Regions from separate parts of the Homo sapiens genome. Here region 2 is linked to region 1. Evidence: promoter capture Hi-C in 16 types of primary human blood cells and fetal thymus (Javierre and others, 2016). All regions are on one chromosome and are shown on one strand. Each heading gives the region's core, a stretch centred on a gene start or on the middle of the fragment in contact. The rest is flanking DNA. Distances are from core to core; before and after follow the strand shown.

The links. The method cuts DNA at HindIII sites, captures the fragments that hold promoters and counts their contacts. A CHiCAGO score of 5 or more calls a contact.
Region 2: the fragment with the promoter of KRTAP2-1 here is called in contact with the fragment with the promoter of KRTAP17-1 in region 1 in 5 of 17 cell types (M2 macrophages, total B cells, M0 macrophages and 2 more); the score reaches 7.1 in M2 macrophages.

The regions. Positions count from the first base shown.
Region 1 is chr17:41,312,795-41,318,122 of GRCh38, forward strand. It overlaps KRTAP17-1 (keratin associated protein 17-1), which reads right to left and starts at 2,916. Exons shown (of 1, transcript NM_031964.2): 1 at 2,118-2,916. The coding sequence starts at 2,856. The coding sequence ends at 2,539. The HindIII fragment of the contact is 4,540 bases long and covers 1,844-5,328 here.
Region 2 is chr17:41,045,632-41,051,126 of GRCh38, forward strand. It overlaps KRTAP2-1 (keratin associated protein 2-1), which reads right to left and starts at 1,685. Exons shown (of 1, transcript NM_001123387.1): 1 at 910-1,685. The coding sequence starts at 1,636. The coding sequence ends at 1,250. The HindIII fragment of the contact is 11,978 bases long and covers 1-5,495 here.

The sequences.
Region 1 (5,328 bases), core at 1,666-4,165:
CTGAATCACAACTACTCAGTGCAGATTCACTGGTCTCTGGACAAGTGTGTCCCATTGGCAGCTCCTGCTTTGGCGGTGGCTTTGTCTTAGGGGTTAAAGAGCCAGTTCCTAGGAAGCCAGTTCCAGCCAGAGTGAAAATGGCTCAAATAGTAGAGTCCGAAACTGAACCAAGGCAGAGTCAAATCTCAGGTTCTCTCCAAAAGAAGACATTAATAATACTGCTGGGTTCATAAATGAAAGAAAAAAATGAAAACACAATGAGCTACCACTATACACCTGCTGGAATGGCTAGAAATAAAAAGACTGATAATATTAAGTGTTACCAAGGACATAGACACTGGAACTCTCAGACATTGCTGGTTGGAATACAAAATGCTGTGGCCACTTTGCAAAACAACTCGGCAGTTTCACATAAGGTTAAGCATTCACTTACCATTTAAACAGCCATCCAATTGCTAAGTATTTATCCAAAACAAAGCATATGTTCACCAAAAAAAAAAAATTGTACGAGAATGCTCATAGCAGCTTCATTCATAATAGCCAGAAACACAAAAGAATCCAAATGCCCATAAGTAGGTGAATATATTTTTAATGTAGTTTATCTGTATAATGGGATGCCATTCAGTAGAAAAAAAAATGAATTATTGATACCTGCAACAATGAACAGATACAAAACATGATAGGCAAAATGAAAAATAGTGCATACTGCATGATTTCTTTTATATGAAATTCTAGACATGGTGAAATCTGTAGTAACATAAAGAACAGGTTGATGGTTGCCAGGGTCTGGGGGTGGGGGAAGAACTGACTGCAAAGACAAACTGGGAATTTTGGGGGTGATGGAAAGTTCCATAAAGATCTTGAGTGCAGTGGTGGTTACATAAGTATACACGAATGTCAGATCACATCATACTGTTCACTAAAAATGGGAACTTTTTATTATATGTAAATTATATTTCAATAAAGTTGACCATAAAAAATGAAACAAAAAAATTTTTTAAAGAAAAAGGTAAAAGCAACATAATCCCAGTTTTATTCATAACTATGCTTAGAAAACAGTCTGGAAAGCTTATCAGTAATAGACTCTGAGTGGTGAGCCTTCGAATGCTATATTCTTTATATGTTTCTGTATTTTTTCATTTTTTAGAGTTCATTGCTATGCTTATAATCAGAAAAAAATTTTTCTTTGTCAAATGAAACATCGCTTTGTAGGCATAAAAATAAATACTATTTTTCCAGGGCAAGAGCAAAATTAGTTTTATTACACACACAGCTTAAGGTCACTTTCAACAAAAGGTTGATCAACTGTCTTTTGAGTTTTAACCTCCCAGGTGGACCCACACACCTTGGCTGGGCCCTACCTAGCAGAGGTATACTCACTCCCTCCTCCTTAGAACTCAGGCAGAAGAAACGTAGCTGGTTCCAGGTAAGACAACCTAGCACAGAAAAGTGAGACTGGACCAAGCATGAGGCTGGAAGAAGGAACTGTACTGCGCAGAACATCCTCAGAAACTGTGAATTCACTAGCTTTGCCATTAGAAATCCTTTCCATTCAGAACCAATCTTGTTTTACCAAAGCCTCCTTTCCGACTTTGCCAGAAAGTTCTGATCAAGCCTGAAGCCCTCCTGCAGAACCATCCTAGGAGAGCTGTAGTGCAGAAGAAAGCCATGCCCCTCAATCACCATTAAATGTGGCCAGCATCAGCATTCACCCAGGAGCTTTTAAAAATGCAGGTCCCTAGGGACTCTAGGCCCTAGAGCTAACGGGTAAAATCTCCAGTGATAAAACCCAATGATCTATATTTTTAAAAGCTTTTCAAGTGAATCTCATGCAGCACACGGAAGCTTCCGTCTAGATCTATGGTTCTCAAACTTCAGTGCATAAGAATTATCTAAGGTTCTTGTTAAAAACACAGATTCCCAGGCCACACTTTGGTGGATTCTGATTCTGTATGTCTTAGGGAGGGCCTCAGAGTCTCCAGTTTTAACAAGCTCCCAGGTGATTCCGACGCAGGTGATCCAAAAACCACAATTCAAAAACCCTAAGGCAGATGCCAGAGTGAATTTTTCTAACCCAGTCCTCAGCAGGGAGGTCAAGGAAGAGGCAAGAGAACTAATTAGGTTATGCCAGCATGCTCAAATTTATTAAGAGGCTCACAAAGAAGATGGACCTTTTTTGCATCTCAAAGCTGCAGAAAGCCAGGGCGGAGGATCAGTCCCAAAGACACCTTGAAGAAGAGGATGTCTTATAGTACAAGACATTGAACTTCATGTGAATAAGTAAAGTATTGGGGATTCACCCTTGAGCTTGGGATCACTTAGTTGTGACCGAGTTTTAATGTTTCATCAGAGTATGGCTCTTGTTCTCGGTGCCTTGAAATACCAGAGAAGGTGTTGGAGAACAAGCCCTCCTCTACAAATCACAGAAAGACAAGACACTGTCTTGGGGGTATGGAAGGTTCTGGACACGAGGGGCTGTCCCCCTGGAGCAGATGGAGGCTTTCGGTGGGACTGCATCAGTGGTGGAGGGAAAGGTCTTCATTTTGTGTCGCATATAGGTGTGGGCTGGCAGCACACAGGCCCACAGCACCCGGAGCCGCAGCAACTGGACCCACAGCAACTGGATCCACAGCAGCCACCCCCGCAGCCTCCGCAGCCTCCACAGCCTCCGCAGCCAGATCCACAGCAAGACGATCCGCAGCAGCTGCCCCCGCAGCCAGAGCCCCCGCAGCCAGAGCCCCCACAGCCACAGCAGGAGCCGCAGCAGCCACAGCAGCCCGGCTGACAGCAGCACTCTTCACAGCAGTTTTGCTCCTGGGTGCAGCAGGTGAAGCAGTCCCCCGGGCAGCACCCCATGGTCCGGGCCCGTCAGCTCGCAGGTCGGTAACGCAGCCGGAGTTCCCCACGACTGACGGTGGCCAGCCATCTGGATGGCAGCTTTTATATCCCCTCACCCAGGCATGAGGGACGGGATGTTTTCTTTGTTATTATTTATGCAAGTTTCCATAAGACCGGCTCATTAACTGGCTGTTTATTTTCCAGTCCTGAGTACCTCAACTCATAAAAACGCCCCACTCCTGCCAACTGCTGTTTATCCAGAGGGTAAAAATACATCTTCGAAAAGACCTGTCATCATGGCCAAGCATCTGCCAGCTGTCATTAGCCCAGGTTGGAGATGGGAAGGGGAAGCCGGCCACAGCTTCTGGCTCTGGAATGAGGGGCTTGCCTTCCACATCTTCGCAGGTTGGCGATGGACCCCATCTTCCATGGATGCTAGTCCTGGAAAGGCAGACCGGCAACAGCCGAATGCTCTGTTCCCCCTGACACCAGTGGAGGCTACTGAGAACGCCTGGTCACGTGGCTCCTCCCAGGTGGAAATGGCATCCTCATCCCGGTTCATGTGAGCCAGGCAAATGTTTGTGTCTGTGTGTGGTATGGGGAGTGTGCCACACGTTTAGGCTTGGCCGGTGAGCATCAGTCATGAGTAATAACTGCCCTGTGAAACCGAGAGAGACTCATCGTAAAGCTGCAAGAAGCTGGTAAGGCATGGTCTGTCTCGGCGGCAAGGTGAGCTGAATATTCGCACTTCTCTCTAAATAGGTGGGAAGAACTGAGATCAGAACCCTCTACCCACCCCCACTCCAGCCCCAGGCCTTTCCTTGACCGGGGAAGGAAGAGATGCAGGAGGAGGAAGAAGAGGAGAAGGGGAGGAAGAAAGGAAAGAAGAAAAGAAAGAAGAAAGCAGGAAGGAGATCAGTAAATATCCAAAATGCTACATTAAAATGGGAATGTAACGCACTTTTTTTAAGAGTTCGAACCTTATAGACCATCTGGCAGAAGGAGAAATTAGAATACAAAATACCCAGAGTGTCATCCCAAGGAATAAAATGCCTTTGCAAGGAGTCTAAAATCTACAGATGGTTCAGGTCCATGTGTAAATTTTGAGATGGGTCAAAATTTCTGTCTCTTTCTTGGACTTTGGTACCTTGTTCTCCTCTTGGAGTGCCCATGGCAGCCCTGGAGCTGGAATACAACATCTAGTAGGGGTAGAGGACAGAAGATAGGGGTGGGGTGGGAATGGAAGGAGGGATGGGAGTAAGGATCTGGATCAAGGGATCTAGTCCTTCCCTTTTCATTTCCCTTTCTTTGTAAGATGGGCTAGAAGTAAGACAGCCTCTAAGAAGGGCTAGAAGAACTAAGGACAGGGTGGGAGTCGGGAGGGTAAATGATGAATGAGTTACTTGGATCTGATATGATACTCAATACTTCACAGGATATGGAATTTTAGAGCTGGGAGGAACCCCTGAAACATCATCTGGTCCAGGGTTTTATATCAGAATTGCCTAAAAGGGGGCCTTTTGAAAAATACAGATTCCCAAACTGTATTCCAGTCCTTATGATAAATCAGAATGTGTGCTTATGAGAGCTTGAGAAGCTATATATTTTAAACTTTCTCAGGTAACTTGGGTTACATTAGGAAACACTGATATAATCTAATCCTATCATGACCATCACTGCCAAGCACTTGTGTTTTACAGAAGATGATACCAAGGCCCAGAGATGACACATCCGTGGTAGATTGGACCCATGGCCCAGATGTTCTCCCTCCTGGTCCACTGTTTCTTCCACCATACCACATCCACAGATGGGCACCTCTGAGTGAGTATAATACAGCAATGTCTATGGCAGACGTGTCCTTTTTTGTTTGTTTGTTTGTTTTTTTGAGATGGAGTCTCACTCTGCTGCCCAGGCTGGAGCGCAGTAGCTTGATCTTGGCTCATGGCAACTTCCGCCTCCTGGGCTCAAACGATGCTCCTGACTTAGCCTCCCAAGTACCTGGGATTACAGGCACGCACCAACAAGCCCAGCTAATTGCTGTATTTTTAGTAGAGACAGGGTTTCGCCATGTCGCACAGGCTGGTCTGGATCTCCTGACCTCAAGTGATCTGCCCGCCTCGGCCTCCCGAAGTGCTGGGATTACAGGCGTGAGCCACTGCACCCGGCCGACACATCCTTTTACATATTTATTTATTTTAATAAGAGGTCAAGCATTCCCAGGATAAAAGGTACAAAAGAGTAGAAAGTCTTCCTCATCTTCCAATGTCTCACCATTCAGTTCTCCTGCCTCTCACCCACCCCCTCGCTGCTCCCATAATTACTTAACCCCTGTGTACCTGAATTTCTTCATCTATAAAACAGAAATTAGGATAATAATAGTAGCAGTGTCGTAGAGCTGTTTTGATTAAATGAGTAAATATAAATGTATACATATTGAACACTTGGTTGTTTGAACAACTTGAAAATATAAATTATCATACTTTTATATTT
Region 2 (5,495 bases), core at 435-2,934, 270 kb before region 1:
TATCACCACAATTAGAATGGCTATTATCAAAAATACAAAAAGATAACAAATGCTGGTGTGGATGTGGAAAAAAGGGAACTCATACAAGGTTAGAGGGAATGTAAAGTAGTATAGCCATTATGGAAAACAGTATGGAGGGTTCCCCAAAAATTAAAAATAGGACGATCATGTGATCCAGGAATCCCACTACTGAGTATATACGCAAAGGAAATGAAATCAGTATGTTGAGGAGATTTCTGCACTTCCATGTTTATTGCAGCACGATTCACAACAGCCAACATATGAAAACAATCTAAGTGTTCATCAATGGATGAATGGATAAAGAAAATGTGACACACACTCACACCCAAACACACAATGAAATACTATCAGCCATGAAAAAGAATGAAATACTGTCATGTGCAGCAACATGGATGAACCTGGGGGACATTATGTTAAGTGAAATTAACCAGGCACAGAAAGACAAATAGCACATTCACTCACTCCTATGTGAAATCTAAAGAAGTTGATCTCATAGAAGTAGAGAGTAGAATAGTGACTACCAGAGGCTGGGGAGGGTGAGAGGAGGGGAGGATAGGCAGAGATTGGTCTACAGGTACAAAGTTACAGGTAGATAGGAGGGATAAGTTTTGGTATTCTAATGTACAGTAGGGTGACTGTGGTTAGTAATATTTTATCATATATTTCAAAATAGCGATCAGAGAATATTTTAAATGATCTTACCATGAAGAAATGATAAATGTATGAGGTGACGAATATGCTAAACACCCTGACTTGATTATTACACAACGTATACATGTATGGAAACATTACATTGCACCCCATAAATATGTACAATTATGTGTCAGTTTTTTTAATTAAAAAATTAATTTAATACAAAATATTAGAATGAGTAAATAAAACCAAATCTTTTTGCAAGGCCAAAGAACAGATATTTATTAGAAAATAAACATGCCACGAAATCTTAAGAAGAAGGAAATTGCTTCTTTTACAGACTTCAGAATGGCCCAGGTCTTAATAGATGAGCCCAGTGCTCGGTTCCCTGCTTGGTTGATGTGGGGTTTTGTGGGCTCAGGGCAGGAGGTTTGTTAAAGTAGAGAAATGGGAGTGTGACTTTTTCAGAAGGTGAGTTACGCGTTCCGGGCAGTCAGTGCACTGCTCAGCAGGAGGAGGTCCTGCAGGTGGTGCTGCAAGGGGTCGGCTGGCCGCAGGGGGACTGCACAGACACAGGCTGGCAGCAGGTGGTGGCTCAGCAGGAGGAGGTCCTGCAGGTGGTGCTGCAAGGGGTCGGCTGGCCGCAGGGGGGCCGGCAGCAGGGGGACTGCACAGACACAGGCTGGCAGCAGGTGGTGGCCCAGCAGCAGGGCCTGCACACCACAGCCGTGCACGACGAGGGGCAGCAGGTGATGGGGCGGCAGCAGCCTTCCTGCAGGGAGCAGGGGTCGCAGCACACCGGGCGGCGGCAGGGCTCGCAGATGGGGCGCGTGCAGCGGGGCACGCAGGTCACGGGGCGGCACACGGTGGTCTGGCAGGTCACGGGGCGGCAGCAGCAGGGGTCGCGGCAGCAGCAGGGCTGGCAGCAGCCTCCCCCGTAGCTCAGGGAGGAGAAGGTGGAGCCGCAGCAGGAGCCGGTCATGGTGGTGTCTGAGGCTGGTGTGGGTTGGGCTGTGGAGAGGAGCTGGATGTTCTCAGGTGTGAATGTCCTCCTCCCCCTCTGGGCCCTTTATATACCCTGGCCGGGTGCAGGTGACCCTTTTCGTTTACCTTTTGGCCAATTAAGTAGAATTTTGTTTTGACTAATGGTTGCTTGTGACACACTCATTATCTCACTAAAGAGCTCTTGTTTTATCTCTAAGTATGGATGTACTCACATTGGGTGAAAATCTAAGAACTCATCGTCATTTGAGGTGATAGTAGCTCTTGATGCTTATTTTGAGTAGATAACACTGGATCAAATCTGGACAAAACGGTCTAAAAAAACTTCAGTTTTTAAAAGAAATTAAAAACATAGAGAAGTACATAGAACATTGAGTAGAGCCTATCCTGACCCCAATAGGGGACTCAAGTCCTTGGAAGCACCTACATGTGAAACGTGAATCACACGAGTGTTAGACAAGCCCTCCCACGTAGTCTGCTTGGGAATACGTTTGATTATCACTTGATATAGTGGGATACATAGGCCTTGAATAGGATAGCAGCTCATAGAGTTGTACAGGACAGACAAAAATTTTTGCAAACCACTAAGTGTTGGAATAAAACCTCCAAGACTGCCTTGCATGTTTTCTTTTCTCTAGTTCAGGTTCTGTGCAACTCTGGTCTTTCTGTCATAAGATGCTGATTTTTATCTCTGAAACATGTCATTTTTTAGCGTTGCCTTTCTTGTGCATGTAATGAAGAATTCTGTAATGGGAAATTTTTCTGAATATACCTTGTTGGCCGGGCGCAGTGGCTCATGCCTGTAATCCCAACACCTGGGGAGGCCAAGGCAGGTGGATCACCTGAGCTCAGGAGTTCAAGACCACCCTGGGCAACATGGTGAAACCTCAACTCTAATAAAATACAAAAAATTAGCTGGGTGTGGTGGCAGTGCCTGTAGTCCCAGCTGTGCCGGAGGCTGGGGAACGAGAATCACTTGAGCCCCAAAGGCGGAGGTTGCAGTGAGCCGAGATCATGCCATTGCACTCCAGCTTGGGCTACAGAGTGAGACTCCATCTCAAAAAAGAAATATGCATATATACTTTGACATAGGTGCTCTGATTAGCAAGTGACAAGAAAGGGGTTTTCAACCAACATTGCACACATATCCAGAACACTGTTCAGGGGTAGACGCATTGGGAGGCTGCCCAGTGTTCTGCTGTGGCACTGCTAAAAGCGTGATGGATGCGCTTCTTCAGGAAGTGTTGCCAGGGGCAGTTCAGGAACTACATGGGGGAAACAGTCCCATTACTTTCCAGCTTTACTCCTCCTGTTAGTCACCAGACAGGGTTTTGAATCACTTCGGGATCATTTTCTTTATTTGAAAGAATGTGCCTTGGGGCCGGACATCTAAAGCTCCCCAAATGGAATTTCAAGCATAATTTCAAAACTTTAAGAGGAATGTAAATTGACTGGACCCGGTAGTCACAATTAGGGAAACAGAAGAGGGAGATATCAGGCACAATCTCATCGCTAGAGACCTTTGACTCTCCTGTTTTACATTCTTTTCTTTGTTTACGGACGTGGGATTTTTGTTTTTCAAAGTGGTAACCAGAGGTAACTAGGTAAAAAGTTGTATATTCTGCTCTTTTCGAGACATATTATCTCATAATTTATTTTCATGCTGCTGTGGAGTCTTCATGATAATCACATTTTATGCAATGGGAGCCTCTTTGGAAGACTTAAATCATCACATTAACAAGACTCATTTCTCTACTGCAGAAACTTCAAACCCAAGGTCATTCTAAAGAGATCTGTCTCTCCCCTTTATAAAGATCTGTCTCTCCCCTTTATAAGGATCTGTCTCCCCTTTATAAAGGTCCAAAAAGATAATCTGTGCATCACTCAGTAACCTTTCTAGTGTTTATTCACTCTAAGACACTTATCCACACCCCATAGCCAAACTTCGTTTTCAGGCAGAGAAAATATGGGTCATGCTTCAGTTATTCATGCCTCAGAGTTGTAAGAGCACAGACAGCTCTGCGGTTTGACACTTGGTGGCAAGTCACATCCTATTTTCTGACCCCACTTATTCTGAAACTGGACAATGCTCATTTAAAGCTCTGCCACTTACTGGCTGTGTGTCCTTGGGCCATAATAATAGTTCATATCAGAATTGTAAGGATTACATGAGCTAATATTTGTCAAGTGCTAAGAACAAACAATGTCTGGCACTTAGTGTCTTGTATTTGTTAAATATATATATATATAGTAAATATATATATACACACATATATACACATATATAGTAACATGACCTTTTACTATATATATAGTAAAATATATATAGTATATATGTATATATACATATGTATTACATATATAGTAAAATATGTATAGTATATATGTATACAGTATATATGTATGTATACTATATATGTATATGGTGTTGCGGGAAGTCAGGAACCCCAAACGGAGGGACTGACTGAAGCCATGACAGAAGAACGTGGATTGTGAAGATTTTATGGACATTTATTAGTTCCTCAAATTAATACTTTTGTAATTTCTTATGCCTGTCTTTACTGAAATCTCTAAACATAAATTGTAAAGATTTCATGGACACTTATCACTTCCCCAATCAATACCCTTGTGATTTCCTATGCCTGTCTTTACTTTAATCTCTTAATCCTGTCAGTTGAGGAGGATGTATATCATTCCAGGACCCTGTAATAATTGCATTAACTACAAAAATTGTACAGCATGTCTGTTTGAGCAATATGAAATGTGGGCACCCTGAAAAAAGAACAGAATAACAGCAATTGTTCAGGGAATAAGAGAGATAATCTTAAACTCTGACCGCTGGTGAGCCGGGCAGAACAGAGCCATATTTCTCTTCTTTCAAAAGCAAATGGGAGAAACATCGCTGAATTCTTTTTCTCAGCGTGGAACGTCCCTGAGAAAGAGAATGCGCACCTAGGGGTAGGTCTCTGAACTGGCCCCCCCGGGGTGTACCTGTCTCTTATGGTCGAGATTGCAGAGGTGAAATAAACTCCAGTCTCCCATAGCGCTCCCAGGCTTATTAGGAAGAGGAAATTCCCACCTAATAACTTTTGGTCAGACCGGTTGATCTCAAAACCCTGTCTCCTGATAAGATGTTATCAATGACAGTGGTGCCCAAAACTTCATTAGCAATTTTAATTTCACCTCGGTCCTGTGGTCCTCTGATCTCGCCCTGCCTCCACTTGCCTTGTGATATTGCATTACCCTGTTAAGTACTTGATGTCTGTCACTCACACCTATTCGTATACTCTCTCCCCTTTTGAAACTCCCTAATAAAAACTTGCTGGTTTTTGTGGCTTGTGGGGCATCACGGATCCTACCAAAATGTGATGTCTCCCCCGGACACCCAGCTTTAAAGTTTCTCTCTTTTGTTCTCTGTCCCTTTATTTCTCAAGCCAGCCGATGCTTAGGAAAATAGAAAAGAACATACGTGATTATCGGGGCAGGTTCCCCGATAATATGGTACATATATATTACATATATAGTAAAATATATATAATATATTACATATATAGTAAAATATATATAATATATTATATATATAGTAAAATATATATAATATAATATATATAGTAAAATATATATAATATATTATATATAGTAAAATATATATAATATATTATATATATAGTAAAATATATATAACATATTATATATAGTAAAATATATATAATATATTATATATATAGTAAAATATATATAATATATTATATATAGTAAAATATATATAATATATTATATATAGTAAAATATATATAATATATTATATATAGTAAAATATATATAATATATTATATATA